Linked DNA regions of Homo sapiens: regions 1, 2, 3, 4, 6 and 7 are each linked to region 5. The links are contacts of gene promoters, found by promoter capture Hi-C in blood cells and fetal thymus (Javierre and others, 2016). All regions are on one chromosome and are shown on one strand. Each heading gives the region's core, a stretch centred on a gene start or on the middle of the fragment in contact. The rest is flanking DNA. Distances are from core to core; before and after follow the strand shown.

What was found. Contacts are between HindIII fragments. The CHiCAGO score rates a contact against its expected background, and 5 or more counts as called.
Region 1: the fragment with the promoter of NPC1L1 here is called in contact with the fragment with the promoter of AEBP1 in region 5 in 8 of 17 cell types (M1 macrophages, M2 macrophages, M0 macrophages and 5 more); the score reaches 18.5 in M1 macrophages.
Region 2: a fragment that was not itself captured here is called in contact with the fragment with the promoter of AEBP1 in region 5 in 2 of 17 cell types (M2 macrophages and M1 macrophages); the score reaches 10.1 in M2 macrophages.
Region 3: a fragment that was not itself captured here is called in contact with the fragment with the promoter of AEBP1 in region 5 in 1 of 17 cell types (fetal thymus); the score reaches 6.4 in fetal thymus.
Region 4: a fragment that was not itself captured here is called in contact with the fragment with the promoter of AEBP1 in region 5 in 1 of 17 cell types (M1 macrophages); the score reaches 5.1 in M1 macrophages.
Region 6: a fragment that was not itself captured here is called in contact with the fragment with the promoter of AEBP1 in region 5 in 9 of 17 cell types (M1 macrophages, fetal thymus, M2 macrophages and 6 more); the score reaches 8.4 in M1 macrophages.
Region 7: a fragment that was not itself captured here is called in contact with the fragment with the promoter of AEBP1 in region 5 in 11 of 17 cell types (M1 macrophages, M0 macrophages, fetal thymus and 8 more); the score reaches 12.0 in M1 macrophages.

What each region holds. Positions count from the first base shown.
Region 1 is chr7:44,539,917-44,542,782 of GRCh38, forward strand. NPC1L1 (NPC1 like intracellular cholesterol transporter 1) reads right to left here and starts at 1,414. Exons shown (of 19, transcript NM_001101648.2): 1 at 1,290-1,414; 2 at 1-426. The coding sequence starts at 1,343. RefSeq lists an enhancer at 86-707. The HindIII fragment of the contact is 6,836 bases long and covers 1-2,866 here.
Region 2 is chr7:44,516,067-44,518,766 of GRCh38, forward strand. NPC1L1 (NPC1 like intracellular cholesterol transporter 1) reads right to left here. Exons shown (of 19, transcript NM_001101648.2): 15 at 1,141-1,291; 16 at 637-868; 17 at 18-131. Among named protein-coding and RNA genes, the nearest start is that of NPC1L1, 24 kb to the right of the region's middle. The HindIII fragment of the contact is 7,058 bases long and covers 1-2,700 here.
Region 3 is chr7:44,609,577-44,612,276 of GRCh38, forward strand. The region is part of intron 1 of OGDH (oxoglutarate dehydrogenase); the gene reads left to right. Among named protein-coding and RNA genes, the nearest start is that of OGDH, 4.3 kb to the left of the region's middle. The HindIII fragment of the contact is 7,319 bases long and covers 1-2,700 here.
Region 4 is chr7:44,460,022-44,462,763 of GRCh38, forward strand. All of the region lies in intron 2 of NUDCD3 (NudC domain containing 3), which reads right to left. Among named protein-coding and RNA genes, the nearest start is that of NUDCD3, 29 kb to the right of the region's middle. The HindIII fragment of the contact is 6,752 bases long and covers 1-2,742 here.
Region 5 is chr7:44,103,073-44,105,772 of GRCh38, forward strand. It overlaps AEBP1 (AE binding protein 1), which reads left to right and starts at 1,273. Exons shown (of 21, transcript NM_001129.5): 1 at 1,273-1,846. The coding sequence starts at 1,594. The HindIII fragment of the contact is 6,426 bases long and covers 1-2,700 here.
Region 6 is chr7:44,477,767-44,480,660 of GRCh38, forward strand. All of the region lies in intron 2 of NUDCD3 (NudC domain containing 3), which reads right to left. Among named protein-coding and RNA genes, the nearest start is that of NUDCD3, 11 kb to the right of the region's middle. The HindIII fragment of the contact is 6,664 bases long and covers 1-2,894 here.
Region 7 is chr7:44,565,658-44,568,357 of GRCh38, forward strand. DDX56 (DEAD-box helicase 56) reads right to left here. Exons shown (of 14, transcript NM_019082.4): 12 at 2,461-2,566; 13 at 791-867; 14 at 147-422. The coding sequence ends at 345. Among named protein-coding and RNA genes, the nearest start is that of DDX56, 6.9 kb to the right of the region's middle. RefSeq lists a silencer at 1-153 and an enhancer at 7-506. The HindIII fragment of the contact is 3,764 bases long and covers 1-2,700 here.

The DNA.
Region 1 (2,866 bases), core at 164-2,663, 440 kb after region 5:
GTAGAAGGCCTCATAGGCCACCACAGCTGGGAGTTGTCCAGCCCCTAGCTGGGCCACGCGGGTCACATTGATGAAGAGGCTCTGATTGGGGCTGCACGTGTTGTGGCAGTGCAGGTTCACAAAATTGTCAGAGCAGGCTGGGCAGCGGGTGAGGAGGGCCTTGGTGATCGACAGACTCGCTTCCAGTGATACCAGCTGCTTGGCGGAGCAGCAGGCTTGGGTGTTGGGGCCGGTGTAGAGGCGGGGGCAGATCTTCTGTAATAGGATCAGGTGATCACCTGTGATCTTGCGGGCCGGCGTGTTGGACAGGCAGGACACGTTGGAGAGTGTCATGAGGCTTCCAGACAGCTCTGGGTTCTTCCCACATTCGTCATAGAAGGCGCAGTAGCCAGGCTGGTGGATGGTTGTGTAAGGCTCACTCTGGGCCTGCAGAGCACAGCAACATCACGCGTGGGCCCTGACACAGCTGGGTGCCATCCAGGCAGCAGGCAGCCAGGGAGGGTGTGAGGGTAAGAAGGACATGGAGCAGGGGCAGGGAAGCGGGGAGTGTGGGGAGTAGGAAGCCTCCTGGAGGCATGTGCCAGCCAGCCAGTGTTGGAGTGACAACACTGGCCTTTCTTCCTGGGGGTGGCCTGATAGACCTGCAGCTTAGGAAAGTCATGCTGGAGAGGCCAGAGATGGGTAAGGAGGCAAAGCTGACTCCAAGGTCCCGGGCTCTGCCCACGTCAAAGTCAGCCTGAGTCCCCACACTGTACACCACATCCAGAGGCCAGGGTCTCTCATGGAGAGTCTGTTCAGGAGGCCCCCCGACTCCCACCACCACTACCACCACCTGCTTGAGGCCAAAAGCTGTCACCCACCTCCCAGACACAAAGTAAGCGAGGAACTTAAGAGGTGCCAGCGCTGGATCTTCTCCCAGCCTCCAGAGTGCTCAGTCCTCCCTAGGTGATGCTCACCAGGTAACCCCATCCCAGCACCTCCTTGCCTCAGACCTCCCTCAACTGCAGGCCTGGACCCCACAGTAGGGCCAGTGACAGGAGGGACTTGGAGCACCCCAGTCCAGCAGCCTCTTTCACCCCTGTGTGCATTCAAGCCTGTAACCTGGAAACCCTCCACCTGCACCCCTCCTCTGTGGGGCCTGGCATCCCTCATGTGTCCAGAGACTTGCCCAGCCCGCAGGCCCTGAGGCTCCCTTGCTGTCACCCAGTAACGCTCGCCTGGTACACGGCTGGCCCCAGGGTCCCTAACTGGAGGCCGCAGGGGAGGTGGAGCCAAGCCCTGGGACTCACCAAGCGCAGGAGCAGGGCCCACAGCAGCCAGCCCCTCAGGCCGGCCTCCGCCATCCCAGGTCTGGGAAGGGGTCAGCGGGGAGCCAGGCCAGGCCTCAGGAACAGCCAAGGGCTGAACACACATTAAGGCAGCCTCCTCCCCTTCGATGACAACCCTGGCCTGACTGGGTTAGGGACCAATGAGGCTGAGCCCTGCTGGTTAATGATCCACCACTCCCACTGTTTGGCCCCAGTCCACAGGCCCCCGCTTTAGATGAGCCTCATCACGCAGGTGCTAGGGTCTCCACTCACTTCCCAAAGCGACCGAAGCCAGAGGGCTGAGTCAGCTAGGGGAGAGACCACGCTATTAGCCCCTAACACTGCTGGAGTTGGTGCCAGGGCCTGGAGGCACAGATGGGACCAGGCACTGGCTGGGACCCGGCCTCAGGAGCTCAGCATGGCCGAGGAACCTCCGCACCCTCCCTGGCTCAGCCTCAGACCCCAGCTCTGCCCTACCCCCTCTTGGGACCAGGGCCAGCAATGGGCTCAGAGGAACCCTCTGCACTGTCATCCCTAGCAACTGTTGTTAATTAATATTAACAGCCTGATAACGGAGGGGCAGGCAGGGTGGAGTGACGCAGTGACAAAAGTCCCCTCCTCCAGGAAGCAAAGGGAAAGAACAGCTCACTCTAGGGCCTGACAGTTGACAGAGACCCCAGATAGTGGAAGACTCTCCTTTGCTCACTTTGCTCTTCATCCCCTCTTCCCCCCGACCTTCTCCCTCTTGTCCCTTGCCCAGGCCTGTCCCACCGGTCACCCCTAGCAAGGGACAGAGCATGGCTGGGAGCCTTGAGCAGCAGCCCTGCTCCACCTGGGCCCAGGGGTGTGGTACACACTTTCTGCTCCCTCCTGATAGGAATCTTCAAGGCCTACCTTGGGTTCTCACTATCACCAGGATGGGCCATGACCTTTACCCCCATTTGGTAATGGGCCCCCATTACCAAAGCTGAGCTGCAGATAAGGGCAGCTTGTTGGGAACATCTCCTGCGTGGCCACCTACTGGAGACAGCTGCAGGAAGGGACCTGTCTCTAGTGTTCTGTGGACCCCTGCCTGATTCACAGGGGAGCCACCCAGCCTCATGCAGGAGAAGACAGAGGCTGAGAGGAAGGGGGCCAAGGCAGGGTCAGGCTGACCCCTAAGTTCTCAAGACAGCCATAGTGGAGAGGAAGACAGTCAGCAGCCAAGGACCTGCCCCTGTGAGTGACAGCTCCATCCAGCACCTTCCCAGCACTGCTCCCAAGTCCCTGGCCGGCAGAGGCGGACACCCCACCACCCATGAAGCTGCCTCTCTAGGTCCTCTGTTCCCGGTGTTGTCATCTAGTTCCTCCAGAAACAGATCCTGAAACAAGGATCCCAGTGCAAAGAGTTTATTGGGGAGATGACCCCAGATGACAGCAGTCGGTGAATGGGGAATGAGCCAGGGGATGGAAGAAAGCTGACCAGAATGCATCCAAGAGCTTGCTCCTGCCCCCAGGGACCTCCGGGAACTGGTGGGGACGTGCCCAAGAAGGTCCCCTCCAAGGAATAAGGACACAGA
Region 2 (2,700 bases), core at 14-2,513, 410 kb after region 5:
CACTCCTCTCCACTCACCGCACTTCCCATAGAGATGGTGGCCTCTTTGGCCCTCTCCAGCCAGGTGGGCTTGGTGCTGATGGCAAAGGAGCGGGTAATGTGGGACACAAACTCCACAGACATGCCCACCGCCTATGGGCAGAGAGGGGGCATAAGCCAAGAAAGGCAGAGGTGGGGAAGGAACTAGGGAGATGAGGCCTCCACCAGGACCAGCGTGGGGCAGGCATCTAGATTCTAGACAGAACTGGGAGTATTTGGCCGGGTGCAGTGGCTCATGCCTATAATCCCAACACTTTGGGAGGCCGAGGTGAGAGGATCACTTGAGCCCAGGAGTTTGAGACCAGCCTGGGCAACAAAGTGAGACCCTGTCTCTACAACAAAAATTAAAATATTAGCTGGACGCAGTGGCACGTGCCTGTAGTCCTGGCTACTTTGGAGGCTGAGGTAGGAGGATCGCTTGAGCCCAAGGGTTCGAGGCTACAGTGAGCTGTGATCATGTCACTGCCCTCAAGCCTGAGCAACAGAGCAAGACCCTGCCTCTAAAAAAAGAAACAAAAAAGAACTAGGAGTATTCTATGAGGCTGGATCCCCAACCACCCCTCCAGAGGCCCCCTGGTGCCTGTGTCTGCTGGGTTACCGAGACCAGGTTGATGAGGGACACAGCATTGTAACTGATGCCCCACAGGGCCATGAAGCCGACAGTGTCCACGAGGATCATGACAATGGAGAGCAGGTTGAGGAGGCCGGAGCGCAGGTCCAGGCCCAGCAGGAGGCAGGAGACAGCGAAGGTGGGCACAAGGCAGAGGCTGAGCATGAAGAGCCCCTCAGGGAGGATGGTCAGGTACTGCTCATAAAACACATTGGTGATCCTGCCAGAGCACAGAGCATGGTCACAGGCTCAGGCCTCTGGGGCCCTCATGGTGGGTGGGACACCCCACTTCAGAAGGAGAATGCTGAGGGTCAGGCAGGCTTATATTGGGGTACAAACCAGCCTAAGAAATAGGCCCAAGGCTGCAGCCAGAGCCTCCTGACCTAAAACTGGTCCTCATCTCATGCAACTCCTTGCAAGCCCTCCACCCTAACCTCCAGTCTCCAGCAACCATACCCCACCTCCCTCCAGCCCAGCCACTCAGGTCCTCACGTGTAGGGGAAGACCTCAAAAGCCGGGTCTGTTCCAGGCACTTTCCGCAGGTCAGCAGTGATGTTGGCTGCCAGCTCTCGAGCTGCCCGCAGAGCTTCTGTGTAATCCTGTGAGTTTTTCAGGGGCTTGTGATAGGCCATGAACCTGGAGGCTGGACAGCCATGGCACACAGAAGATGGAAGGGCAAAGGTCAGAGCCCTTTCCAGGACAACTTCAGAACACCGCAGACGCAGTGGCACAGGCATGTGATCAAGCGGGGTTCAGGGCTCTGCCACCACCATTTGAAATTCTTAGTAAATTTTGTGCAAGAGGCCCATATTTTTGTTTTGCACCAGCCCTGCAAACTCCATAGCTGGCCCCACTGCTGTGGGAGACCCAGGCCTGACCTTTGATGAGTGAAGCCTACAGAGATCTCCCTAGTGAACCGAGATTCTTCTCTGTATGGTTTCAAGATATGCATTGGATTTTTAAAATTAACTTAATTGGTTTTTAATTTGCATATTCCTATAGGAAAGGACTAGAAAGGAAGACAGAAAAATGAGAACGGTTGGATTATTAGAGCTGTGGCTTAGGGCTCCTGCCAGATAAAGGTTATTTCTTAATGACTTTTAAGAAATTAAGGTTATTGGCCGGGTGTGGTGGCTCATGCCTGTAATCCCAGCACTTTGGAAGGCTAAGGCAGGTCGATCACCTGAGGTCAGGAGTTCAAGACCAGCCTGCCCAACATGGTGAAACCCTGTCTCTACTAAAAATGCAAAAATTAGCCAGGCGTGGTGGCACACCCCTGTAATCCCAGCTACTTGGGGGGCTGAGGCAGGAGAATTCTTGAACTCAGGAGGCAGAGGCTGCAGTGAGCTGAGATCATGCTACTGCACTCCAGCTGGGCAACAGAGCAAGATCCCATCTCAAAAAAAAAAAAGAAGAAATTAAGGTTATTAAGACCTTTATACAATAAAGGGTTTTTTGTTCTTGTTTTTGTTTTCGAGACAGAGTCTCACTGTCACCGCAGCTGGAGTGCAGTGGTGCGATCTTGGCTCACTGCAACTTCTGCTTCCCGGGTTCAAGTGATTGTCCTGCCTCAGCCTCCCAAGTAGCTGGGATTACAGGTGCATGCCACCATGCCTGGCTAATTTTTGTATTTTTAGTAGAGACAGGGTTTCACCATGTTGGCCAGGCTGGTCTCAAACTCCTGACCTCAAGTGATTCGCCGGCCTCGGTCTCCCAAACTGCTGGGATTACAGGTGTGAGCCACCGCACCTGGCCCAAAAAGGTTGTTTCTTGGCGACACTCTGCCTCTATTAATAATACAAAAATTAGCTGAGCATAGTGGCATGTGCCTGTAATCCCAGCTACTAGGGAGGCTGAGGCAGGAGAATTACTTGAATCCAGGAGGTAGAGGTTGCAGTGAGCCGAGATTGTGCCACTGTACTCCAGCCTGGGTGACAGAATGGCAACTGTGTCTCAAAAAAAAAAAAAAAGTTATTTCTTTATTGTGTACAGTGAGCATGTGTATCTGAAAAAGAAACAATAGTGCTACATAGGTGTGGAGAAAAAAGAAGA
Region 3 (2,700 bases), core at 107-2,606, 510 kb after region 5:
CACATTTGGTTTATTCATCCATTAAAAGACATCTTTACTGTTTCCATTCTTTGGCTATTACAAATAAAGCTGCTACAAACCTTCATGTACAGATTTTTATTTGAACATAAATTGACATTTCTCCAAGATAAATGCCCAGGAATACAATCACTAAGTCGTAGTGCGTGCTTAGTTATTAAACAAATAGCCAAACTGTTTTCCAGAGTGATTGTACTATTTTACATTCCCACCGGCACTGTATGGTCTTGTTTCTCCACATACTTGCCAGCATTTGGTGATGTTACTTTTTTTATTATAGCCATTCCAATAAATGTGTAGTAATGTCTCTTTGTGGTTGTAATTTGCATTTTTCTGATGGCTAATGATGTTGAACATCTTTTCATGTGCTTATTTGCCATCTGTCTATTCTCTCTTTTTTTGGAAGAGATGGGATCTTGCTATGTTGCCCAGGCTGGTCTTGAACTCCTGGGATCAAGTGATCCTCCTGTCTTAGCCTCCCAAAGGCTAGGATTTCAGGCATGAGCCACCATGCCTGGCCCCTGTATACTCTCGGGTGAAATGTCTGTTCATATCTTTTGTTCATTTCGTAATTAGATTGTTCGGTTTTTGTTAACTGTTGAGCTTTGAGAATTCCTAATGTATTCTAGATACCACTGCTTTGTTGGATATGTAGTTTGCAGATATTTTCTCCTAGTCAGCAGCATGTCTTTTCATCTTGGTTTTTTTTTTGTTTGTTTGTTTGTTTTGTTTTTGAGATGGAGTCTCGTTCTGTCCCCCAGGCTGGAGTGCAGTGGCGTAATCTCTACAACCTCTGCCTCCCAGGTTCAAGCGATTCTTCCGCCTCAGCCTCCTGAGTAGCTGGGATTACAGGCGCTTGCCACCACACCTGGCTAATTTTTGTATTTTTAGTAGAGACGGGGTTTCACCGTGTTGGTCAGGCTGGTCTCGAACTCCTGACCTCGCGATCTGTCCACCTCAGCCTCCCAGAGTGCTGGGATTACAGGCGTGAGCCACTGCTCCTAGCCCTTTTCATCTTTTTGTTTGTTTGTTTGTTTGAGACGGAGTCTTGCTCTGTTGCCCAGGCTGGAGTGCAGTGGTGCAATCTTGGCTCACTGCAACCTCCACCTCCCCGGTTCAAGCCTTTCTCAGCCTCCCAAGTAGCTGGGACTACAGCCGCGTGCCACCACGCCCGGCTAATTCTTTTGTATTTTTAGTAGAGACGGGCTTTTACTGTGTTAGCCAGGATGGTCTGGATCTCCTGACCTCGTGATCGACACCCCCTTGGCCTCCCAAAGTGCTGGGATTACAGGCGTGAGCCACCGCGCTCAGCCCCTTTTCATCTTCTTAACGGGGTCTTTTGCAAAGCAAAAGTTTATAATTTTGATGAGGTCTGGTTTACCAATTTTATCTTTTGTTAGATTGCTTTTGGTGTTGAGTTGAAGAACTCTTTGCCTAGCCCAAATTCCTGAAGATTTTATCATATGTATTTTTCTAAATTTTTTTTTTTTTTTTTTTGGAGACACGGTCTTACTCTGTCACCCCAGGCTGGAGTGCAGTGGCATGATCACAGCTCACCGCAGCCTCAACCTCCTGGGCTCAGGTGATCCGGTGATCCTCACACCTCAGCCTCCTGAGTAGCTAAGAGTACCGGAGTCTGCACCATGCCTGGCTAATTTTTGTATTTTTTGTTTTTTGGTTTTTTGAGACGGAGTCTCGCTCTGTCGCCCAGGCTGGAGTGCTGGAGTGCAGTGGCACGATCTCAGCTCACTGCAACCTCCGCCTTCCGGGTTCATGCCATTCTCCCACCTCAGCCTCCTGAGTAGCTGGGACTACAGGTGCCCGCCACCATGCCCGGCTAATTTTTTTTTTTTGTATTTTTTAGTAGAGACGGGGTTTCACTGTGTTACCCAGGATGGTCTCGATCTCCTGACCTCGTGATCCCCCCCGCCTCGGCCTCCCAAAGTGCTGGGATTACAGGCGTGAGCCACCGTGCCTGGCCTAATTTTTGTATTTTTTGTAGGGACGGGTTTTGCCATGTTGCCCAGACTGGTCTCAAACTCCTGGGGTCAAGCAATCCTCCCACCTTGGCTTCCTGAAGTGCCAGGATTACAGGCGTGAGCCACTGCGCCTGGCCACTTTTATAAAATTTTTAAATTTTACATTTAAATCTATGATTCATTTAGACTTAATTTCTTTTTTCTTTTTTTTTTTATGTTTTCACTTTATGGTACTTTTTGATGAACAGTTTTTAATTTTAATGTAATTGATATAAATTTAGTCTTGTGGCCAGCTTTTTTTGAGTCCTAAAGACTCAAGATCAAATAGATATTCTAAAAGTTTTAATGTTTTTTTTTATTATTATGCTTTAAGTTCTGGGGTACATGTGCACAACATGCAGGTTTGTTACATATGTATACATGTGCCATGTTGGTGTGCTGCACCCATTAACTCGTCATTTACATTAGGTATATCCATTTGGAGTTAATTTCTGTATGTGGTTTAAAGTTTGAGTGTTTTTTGGTTTTTGTGGGGGGTTTTTGCTTATGAATATCTAACCAGCACCGTTTGTTTGAGAAGACTGTTTTTCTTCCATTGAATTGCTTTTGCACTTTCGTCAGAAATCACTTGGCTGTACTTGTGTGACTCTGTTTCTGATTCTCTGTTGCATTCCATTGATCTTTGTGTCTATCCCATCACCAA
Region 4 (2,742 bases), core at 124-2,623, 360 kb after region 5:
TTAGTAGACAATGGAATGGTATATTTAGCCTACAACATTAAAGCAGAGAGAAATTTCTAAAATCTAACATAAAGAAAATCACTGAAGGCAGTATCGATGTGGTAAAATCCCCACACTAAATTCAGTGAATCAACTGATAGAAGAAAAGCAGTGAATAAGAAAATGTGAGGATTTGTAAAACTACAGAAGGATAATATCCAGACTCCCATCAATGAGTAAGTGGAGTTAATGAGTTAACAAAGTAGGAAATAACAACAGTAAATCACTGTGTAGAAAATGTAATCTTTCTATAAATAAAGAAATGCAAAGTAAACTATAAGCTATCATCATAACTGTTTAACTAAAATTTTAAAACATATTTCTTACCTGGTATGACTAAGTACGGCCTGCCCTAGGAAGGAAAGCATATAAGGCCATTATGAACATGCTCTACTGCATTAGCAGGAAGTGGGCAGCTACCACAAGACTCCAAATAGTATGCCAGACTCTACCACGTGCCCTTTTTAAAAACCCACCAGCATATATAATACTTACCAACACCAAAACTAGACTAACCAAGAAAAAAAAAATTTACCACTGACTACATCTGGGGTTTTAAGCCACCTGAGGTTCTAAACCTATTTATGTCACTATTTCCCCCTCAAAAAAATAAACAGCTATCTCAAAAACGTAATATGAAGATATGAATGAAATTAAGATGAAAAGGATAGGATGCTTTAATTTGGGGGGAAAGAAAGAGAAAACAAAAGTTTAAACCCTGGATCCAGTACTAACTCTAACCTATACTAAATTTCACAAATACTATAAAACATTACTCCAAATGAATTAACTCTACACTAGTCAACACTTGGCAAAAACGCTTTTTTGCAAAATCTGCATTAAAGGATTTTAGTTTTCCTCCATTGGAAAATCTTTCATTATTTTTAAAAATGTATTTGAACGGTGTGATAATTCTTTTCTCCTACCACATATCCTAGGTAGTCCTAGACAACAGGCCTAAAAACCCGACGGGTTCAACTCTGCTTATCTCAAAACGCTCCTTCAAGACTATACCCCTCCCAAGGGGATTCTCTGGACACAACTCAAATGCTTTCTTCTATCTCCTTGCCTTCCAGGAATCCCTTCCTCCCTTCTCCTGGCTTCTTCGGCCCTGCACCCATGAAGGCCAGCACAGGCATCACCTTCTCCAGGAAGTATTTCTGACATTCCAGAAAATGGGTCTGGACCCTTCCTCTGCATTCATCACATGGGATTGCAACAGTTTGTCCAAGCTCCCCCTAAACTGTGAGCCCCTTGAGCATCTCCCACTCTATATGTCTGACTGCTAGAACAGAGCCTGAAACATCATAGAAGGTATGCCACATATACATGGGATGGGAGGATAGAAGGGCAAGCTGCATATGAAGAGAAGTCTTCTCTTAAAATCAGTGTGATCTGCAACAGGAAAAGGCTGTCTCCCTGTGGGGGGAGGCACACTCATAAAGACTAAATCATTTCCTGCCTGTTAGGGATGCTATGGGAAGGACAGAAAAGCTACCATGATTGAGTCAGCCGCAGACACATGGTACAATCTGACCTATACCATTGAAAGTGAAGGAGCCTTTGAAGAAGCACCAAAGAGAGAGAGAAAGGAGTCTTTCACCAGCCATGTGACATGCAGAATGGCCACACCTCAGCCATAATGGTTGAAAGGGGGAGGAAACAAAGAAACAGAAAGTTTGGGATCCGGGCCCTAACCCAGACTGTGTGAAAGCTCATTTTCTCAAATGCCAGAAATGCTTCCTAGAGAAGGTGGTGCCTGTGCTGGCCTTCATGGGTGCAGGGCCACAGAAGCCAAGGAGAAGGGAGGAAGGGGTCCTGGAAGGCAAGGAGGTGGACCGTGTAAAAGCTGTCCACAGTTGGGATGGACACAGTTGGGATGGGACAGTGTTCAAGTGCCTGGCTCCGTGGTAAATAAAATCAGGGCTCACATGATTCAGGTGCATAGGCAGGTGGTCCCTGAACCCAGGTAGTCTCCCCAAGAGATGTTCTGAGGCAGTCCACAAATATAGCACATGCAAAGCATATTATCAAACTCAGAGGACTTCCACTGCTCTGAGATAGGAATTATCAGGGACATGTACACACACACTCTCTCTCTCTCTCTCATATATACACACATACAGAAAGAGAAAAAGAAATGCGTATTACCTCTCTATCTTTAAGAATATTTAAGGTAACTTTAGTCAAGGAGCTGGGTACATTTTGCTTACAAACAACATTTCATGAATTGCTATGAAATTTTATAGAAGCCTAATTTCCAGGGCTCGAGTTACAGTTACTGAACAAATGTAACCATAATGTGTGCCACTAGCATCTCAACCACATAATTACCCAGAAAAAATTAACAGATACATAACTTATACTCTAAAATCCCCTAATGACCACATGTTCAGAAAATGTTCCTAAATAGGAAAACACTGACCAATATTATTAGCTTAACTTTTCAGGGAATAAAGACATCATAAAGCAGATTATTCCAACTTTTCAAATATGAATGAAAACAGAAAACTCCTACTTGATCAGCAGCTCTCAAAGGGAGGGTAGGCCCTGCCTCCTGGGAGTTTGGGAGTGTGTGGGCAGCGTTAGGTGTCCTTGGGGCAGTCAATGGGCACTGTCCCCTGCCCTGCATTACCTTCACACATCCCATTAGACATGCAGGTAGACAGAAGCTGTTTAACATTCTTCTGAGCCTGTAACCTA
Region 5 (2,700 bases), core at 23-2,522:
CAGGTGCTTCCTGACCCACTTTTCCTCTTTCCTTTTGACCCCAGGTCCAAACTCTGCCCTGTCAATCATCCCAGGGGCTCCTAGGCTTCCCTACCTGACTACTTCACTGGGGCCAAACCCCGCAGACAATCGTGGCTTAGGGCTGTCTGCCTCTGCACTTGGCCCATGGACTACCTGTGAGCTTTCTCTTGTGTCCTCATTCCTTTAAGGGGGAATGTCCTCGGAGCTCTGTCCTTAGCTCCCCATTCCTCCAGTATGAGACAGGGACTAGGCTTGAGTCACGGGGGACTGTGCTGTGTCACGCCCTGCCATACTAATGGGACCACTCTGCCTGTTGATGGCCGTTGTAGGGCAGCCAACATTTGCCCTGGAGAAGCCTTATGGCAAACACCAGGCACCAAGGTGCACATCCCTGATGGATCCTGGGATCAGTTGACACTCAATCCACCTGCCTTCTGGGTCCTCTGGGCCCTCTGGGTCCATGTGGCAGCTGGAGGTATGGTAGACACTTTTTAAAAAATGAGTTCTGGTAAGAAGAAGGTGATAAATGGCTATTTGTCCACGTTGGGACCCGGAGGGGAGGGATGGCATGCCCTTACATGGGACTCCTACCCCCAGCGGGGCAGCTGGCCACTCTGAGGGCAGTTTTGCACCTGCCTCCTGGCTGGAAAGTGAGTTCCCACTGTGCTGTCCCTCCCTGGGGCCCAGCACGGGGCCCGGCCCCACACCGACCTGAAGAGGTTGGTAGGATGACTGAATGAATTGACGCTGGGATGCAGCAGGGCCCATGGGCAGAGGCTCCAGAGCCTGGGAAGGATGGGGTGGCCTTTCTGTGGCCCTCCGAATTGAGAGAGGTCTCAGAGGCCTGACACCACGGCTTTCCGTCCAGGGTTCCTGGTCACCCGCGGAGGGCTCAGAGCCCCGGTGGACTCGGGGTCCCGCCTTAAGGGGGGTGCCTAGGGCAGAAGGAGGAGGGATGTCGGCCCCCTCAGACCCGCACCCCAGGCCCTCCCCACCACCTTTCCTTCCCTCAGGCCCTCTGTCTTCCCAGTCGCCCCGCCCCCTGCCCCTCTGTCCTAGGCGCAAGTCTCCGGGCTTGGGACGCTCGCCGCCAGCGCCCGCCCGCCTGCCCCGCCCCTAGCCCCCCGCCCCCCGCCCCCCGCCCCCCCGCAGCCCCTCCGTCCACTCTCGGCTCCTCCTTCTCTTCCTCCTCCTCCTCCCCGGGGGTGGGGAGCCGGCTCCGGAAGCCCCGGCGCCCCCGCCCCGGGCCCCGCCAGCGCTTTGGAGACGGCTATCCGCGCGGGAGTGCGCCACGCGGGGCCGGAGCGCCTATTAGCCGCCAGGACCTCGGAGCGCCCCGACCACCCCTGAGCCCCTCTGGCTTCGGAGCCCCCCAGCACCCCTTCCCGGGTCCCCTCGCCCACCCTAATCCACTCTCCCTCCCTTTCCCGGATTCCCTCGCTCACCCCATCCTCTCTCCCGCCCCTTCCTGGATTCCCTCACCCGTCTCGATCCCCTCTCCGCCCTTTCCCAGAGACCCAGAGCCCCTGACCCCCCGCGCCCTCCCCGGAGCCCCCCGCGCGTGCCGCGGCCATGGCGGCCGTGCGCGGGGCGCCCCTGCTCAGCTGCCTCCTGGCGTTGCTGGCCCTGTGCCCTGGAGGGCGCCCGCAGACGGTGCTGACCGACGACGAGATCGAGGAGTTCCTCGAGGGCTTCCTGTCAGAGCTAGAACCTGAGCCCCGGGAGGACGACGTGGAGGCCCCGCCGCCTCCCGAGCCCACCCCGCGGGTCCGAAAAGCCCAGGCGGGGGGCAAGCCAGGGAAGCGGCCAGGGACGGCCGCAGAAGGTAAGAGCCCAGGGCAGGGCGGGGGTGTGGGGGGCTGGCATCTCAGGTGGGAACAGGGGGATTCGGTAGGGTCTGGCCACTCCCCAGTCTGCTAGGGGAGGAATGGCTGGCTTACTAATGCGCACGCGAGCCCAGATGCCTGGAGGGACCCTGTGCTAGGCCGAGGTCAGCGCTGGCGTGGAGGCACATCCAGCACCCGGGCGGCAGGGCCGCTTTTGGGGGCCGGTGGCTCTAGGGTTGGTGCTGTGGTTGTACGGGTCGCTTATCCCCATTCCTCCAGTACGCGACAGGTACTAGGCTTGAGCCACAGGGGACTGTGCTGTGTCACCCCCTGCCATACTAATGGGACCACTCTCCCTGTTGGTGGCACAGCTTCACGTCGTCCCTCCCTCCTGCCTTTGCCCTCCTACTCCAGGAGGTCTCACGTAGGTGAGAGAGTTTCAGGTGGTGGTGAGCACAGGGCTTCAGGTGGTGGTGAGCAATGGGTGGTCCTACATTAGTACAGGAAATTAGATGAGGTGATGCATCACTGAAGCATTTAACCCACGGCCTCTTGCATAATCAGTTGTCAGTAAATCTTAGCTGTTTTCATCGTGGCCCTCTGGAAGGTGGCAGAGGGTCTTGTGATCCCTGTCTCCCAGGAGATTCCAAGGCACCATCCAACATTCCTGATGTCAGCAGCCCCTCCCCTGCCACCCCAGCTCTAGATCTTTCCTGGCTGCTTCCCACACCCTGGGCTGCCTGTGCCCCTCCTGCCTCTGGCTCTCCTTCCAGGCTTGCTCTCCTGGCTCTGGGGCACCGCTCTAGCAGCCCTGCGTCCCCTGGCTGTCTGCATTTGGTAGCTTTCCTGTGTT
Region 6 (2,894 bases), core at 240-2,739, 370 kb after region 5:
CTGAGGCTCAAATGGCACTTTTTCACTTTTTACAAAGTCTTTACTATGAACAATTCTTTTTTTTTTTTTTTTTTTTTTTTTAGATGGAGTCTCGCTCTGCTCTGTCGCCCAGGCTGGAGTGCAGTGGCACAATCTCAACTCACTGCAACCTCCACCTCCCGGGTTCATGCAATTCTGCTGCCTCAGCCTCCTGTGTAGCTGAGATTACAGGCACGCACCACCACACCTGGTTAATTTTTTGTATTTTTATAGAGACAGAGTTTCACCATGTTGGTGAGGCTTGTCTCAAACTCCTGACTTCAAATGATCAGCCGGCCTCGGCCTCTAACAGTGCTGAGATTACAGGCATGAGCCACCACACCCAGCCTGAACAACTATTAAAATTGTAAAGCATCCTTACAGAATATAAGCACATTCTCTGATGCTATCTTGTGCAAATAGGGAAATATCTGTGTGCAAATTCTCTCTCTTCTCTGAGGAATAAGATGGGTTATTTACTTTGGGCCGGGCGCGGTGGCTCACGCCTGTAATTCCAGCACTTTGGGAGACCGAGATGGGTGGATCACCCAAGGTCAGGAGTTTCAGACCAGTATGGCCAACATGGTGAAACCCTGTCTCTACTAAAAAAATACAAAAATTAGCCAGGCATGGTGGCAGGCACCTGCACTCCCAGCTACTTGCAAGGCTAAGGCAGGAGAATCGCTTGAACCTGGGAGGTGGAAGTTGCAGTAAGCCGAGATCATGCCATTGCACTCCAGCCTGGGCAACAAGAGCAAAACTCCGTCTAAAAAAAGAAAAAGATAGGTTCCTTTAAGCCCTGGGGTGGGGGCATTTCTGATCTTCATTTGACATGCCCTGGCAGCAACAGTAGGGCAGAAACAAGAATGAAATTCAGACCAATTGTAGGTTATTAGTCAGGGAGATGCTAAAATCAGAGTGATGGTAAAATTAGGTCAAAATAAAATTTCCCCCAAATCACCCCAAAAATACTATAAATGAAACCTGTACATTATTATGTATAAATAACAATGTATGCTGCAACAGCTTTAGGGCAGAACACAGGCACAAGGTTGCCAGGATCTGGGAGTCTGGCACCAATGGAAATGTCATTGTATTAGTCCATTCTCATGCTGCTATAAGGACATACCCAAGATGGGGTAATTTATAAAGAAAAGAGGTTTAATTGACTCGCAGTTCAGCATGGCTGGGGAGGCCTCAGAAAACTTACAATCATGACAGAAGGGGAAGTAAACACATCCTTCTTCACATACCAGCAGGAAGACGTGCCAAGCAAAGCGGGAAAAGTCCCTTATAAAACCGTCTATGAGAACTCACTATCACGAGAACCACATGGATATAACTGCCCCCATGATTCACTGCCTCCCACCGGGTCCCTCCCATGACATGTGAGGATTATGGGAACTGCAATTCAAGATGAGATTTGGGTGGGGACACAGCCAAACCATACTGGTCATCTATCTTGACTGTGGTGGTTACAAGACTACATTTGTCCAAAGTCATAAACTGTATTCTAAAAGGAATGAATTGTATTGTTACATAAATTATACTTTACTAAAACACAAAACAATTGTCTGTATACAGTAATGAACACCTTACAACAAAAATGCATATATAGAGGCAGGAGGAGTACTTGAGCCCAGAAGTTCGAGTTCAGCCTGAAAAACACAGCAAGATCCTGTCTCTAAAAAAATAAAATTCAAAATACATATATACAAAATATAAATACATTATTTTTAATCTTGTTTCTTTCTTTCCCAGCACTTACACTGAATTTATTTAAATTAAATAAGCATGTGATGTGACTTTACTGTAGTATACAAAAAGGGAGTTTTTGCCTAATACTGGTTAGAACCGAAAAACATGTCAAGTAAGAGTCATCAGATATCAGCAATCTAAGACTTAGATTCTCAGATTTTAGACAGAGTGCTCACAAAAGATGGTGCTTCTGTGTGGTCTTCTACAGAATAACTACCTTAAATTACTCAATTAAAAGAACTGCAGATCTATAATTTATAGGATAAACCATCCTGAACACTGGTGGGAGGACTTGGGGTGCAGCTAAAGGTAGAACAAGGAAAAGGATGGTCTTTCACATTCTATTTTCAAATCTGCTAAAACACTACATTTCAGGTATAACTAGAGATCGGTGCCACAACTTCCTGTTTTGTTCAAGGAAAACAAGTAACTGAAGCTGAGAATGTTCCAGTCCTTGGAAAGGTTTGATTAGGATTCTTGCGGTACCAGTCTATTCTGAACAAAGAGCTACCAAGTAGAAAGGTTAGCTTTCCTGAAACATATCCAAGTCTTCACTCTATACTTATTTTTAAGGTAGAACTCACAAAACTAACTCTAATTCTAACCCAGAACAAAATTCACTGGTTCAAGAATTTTAAAATAGGGTCTCTACAAAACAACAAAGTAGCTATTCTAGTCTATTACTCAGAAATCAAAACCAATACCCTCCTTTCATTTTTTAGAGATCATAAAAGGAATACAAAAAAATTAATAAAACAAAATAAATGGTCATTACAGAAAAATTAGAAAATATAGTAAGGGACAAAGATAAAAATGAAGAACACTCACAATTCCACCACTCTGTGATTACTACTACTATTTTCTTCCAGCTTTTTTTCTACATACATAATTTTTAAAGTTTTCAAATTTGATATTAGACTATATAGTTTGAATTCTCCCCTTCTCACTTAACATTATATCATGAAAATATCTGTATAAGTCAAGGTTCCACCAAAGAAACAGAAGCAGCAGATATAGTCAGCCCTCGCTATCCATGGGTTCCATAGCCCAAATCAAAATATTCCCAAAAAATATTTACCAAAATATTTGCTGAGGATCAAAAATATTCCCAAAAAATG
Region 7 (2,700 bases), core at 118-2,617, 460 kb after region 5:
GGGGCAGCTCGGCACAGCTGACCTCTGCTGGCCAAGTGAAGCACTGCATGCAGCCACAGAGCCAGGCACAGCTGTCTTCCGAAGTTTCCCGACTCCTGATGTTTTGGGGATTCAAATAGTCCTTTTCATATGCTGGAGGCACAAACTGGGGCAGCTAAAATTTTTATTCTGTTGTCAAGGGGCAAGATGCCAGCTTGGAAGTGCCAAGGAGCTAAAGGGCCCAGCACTGCCGGCCCCAGAACTGTCTGTTCAGGCTGTGCAGTAAGCACCAGAGCCTCGCCTGTCCACGAAGGGTGTAAGCCTGTGCTCCACAATGTGCTCAGCTCCAGAGAGGCCCAACAACCTCAGGAGGGCTTGGCTGTGGGTCTGAATTTCTTTCCTTTGTGCTTGAAGCTGCGCAGTGGGTTCTGGGACTTTGCTCTCTAAGGAGGCAAAGTCACAGGTTAGTTGGGGGAATCAGGCCGACAGACAATCCACCCACCCACCCACCCAACTGAGAAAGACACAAAGGGAGCCGTGCCGGCAACTGGCCAACACGACCAGAAGGTGCTGCAGATAAGGAAATGGGGAAAGGCAGCTGGGGAAAGAAAAGCAGGGCCTGCAGGCGGCTGCAAAAGTACCCCTATCCCACACCAGATTTTTGGGGCCCGGTTCTAGGGTGCCCCCTCTTCCCCTCCCTAGGGCACCCTCTCTTCCCCTCCCTAGGGCAAGGCGCCTCCACATTCTGGTGATGACAAAAGAGCAGGTTGGGAGGAGTCCTGGGGCTGTCCGCAGTCCCCAGGAGCCGTACCTTGGCCTTCCTACAAGAGGAAGACAGCTTCTTCCGCTTCTTGTGAGGGCGCACCAGGCCACGGAGAGCAGGAGGAACTGGAAGAGATGCTTGCCTGAGCAGTGGGCTCACCGCTACTGCTCCCATCCCTGCCCTCCCGCTGATTCTGCAGCAAATTCTCCAATTCTGACCCAACTGGCAGCCTATGACATACATCTATTCACTACCACATCTGCACAGGGCCAGGAGAATGTGAGCACCTTAGACTTCCACTATTTAAATCACTCTCCTATATTGTTTAGATTTGTTACAACAAACATGTAACAAGAAAGAAAAAGACAGACATCCTTAAAGAAAGAAAATGCAGCTGAAATAAAAGTCAACAGGTAGTTTCTTCACCTGTGGCCCATTACTACCGATACAGGGGGCCCCGCATCCCAGCTGCACCTGATCTTGGCTCTATCTTCACCTCGCCCACCCCATGGACTCCCCCAGGCCAACCACACCTGGGCCCTCCCCTTCAAATGTCAAACATCCCACATCCTGACACCTTTCCACCTTCTCCTGGCCCTTCTAAACCTCCTGGCCACACCTTGGCAAATGACTCCGCTATACGAGCAGACTGGGTTCCTGAGGCCAAAGTTCTAGCCTTACCTTCTCCCTCCCTACCCACCCTCCCAACTCCCCTCCTCACATCTCAGGCCAGGACCTGGACTGGGGTCTCCTCCAGCTCACTGTCCCATGGGAACCCGGCCCCCACCGCTCTCTCTGGCATTTTCATGTTCCCATCTCTTCTGGATCCTTCCTTTCCCAGTGCCCAGGCTTTTCCTGCCCTGGAACATTCCATCTCCACCCTTTGTCACCTCCATAGCAGCAACACCACACCCGCTGGGTGGCTGCAGGTCCAGGCTGAGCAGACCCTGTGGCATTGGGAAGGGTCCTGCACTTGCTGCCCACAGCCTCCTCTCCACCACTCTCCTCCTTCAATCCATTTTAGGCATAAAAGTCACACATACTCATTACCAAAAACACCTCCTATGAGACACTGAAAGAAGTCATTACCCAGAGCCTGCCAAAGATGAGGAGAGGTGCCCAGTATTAATGGCCACATAAAGCTCTAGCCTGGGCTGCACTACAGAAACCAATCCCAGGGTCCTGACCTCATGCCTGCCAACCCCTGCATCCCTCGCACCACCACTGGCTCTTCTCTTGCTACCTTGTCGGTTTAGGCCTTACAGAGTCTGTCTCCCTGCTGACTGTTCTTACCCAGAGACTCCACAGATGCCTCTTCAGCAGCTGCTAATCTTGAGTCTTTTGCAGCACAGGTGGCTCTCTCTGCCTCCTGCCCGTGACTCTCTCCCAAACCTGTTCACTCCCTTCGACCCATGGATGGCCATTTGGCCCAGCTCTGGAGACGACCTGGCCTGAAATGCTGGGTCTGCCACCCACCCTGCACTACCTCAATTTCCTCATCTCTAAAATGGAGACAGCAACAGCTAACCCGTGGGACCAAGCAAACAAGTTTAGAAACACAGGGGTGTGCCTGTTTACATGCCCGCGTGCTGCCAGGGTCTCCAGGTTCTATTCTGCCTGAGCATCCCCAGCACCAAGCACAGGGGCTGACCCAGCAGTGGAGAAATTAATGCCACTTCCCCAGCCTGCTGCCTCCTGCCCTGTCAGGCCACACTCACCCAGGTAGTCAGGAACATGGCCCAGGTGGGGCTTCACCACTGCGGGGTGCAAAGGTAGGTCATGCCGCAGCAGCTGGAGGTCCCTAGGGTTGTCTTCAAAGTATGTCTGCCGGGGGAAGAGGGAGAGCCACAGAGTGAGCATCTTTCTTCTGTGACTTCACAGACCTAGCTTTTCAAAGGATAACACACTCATGTGTTTCAAAAGGCATGAGGCAGCTGCTTCTGTGCATTTCTCAGAAC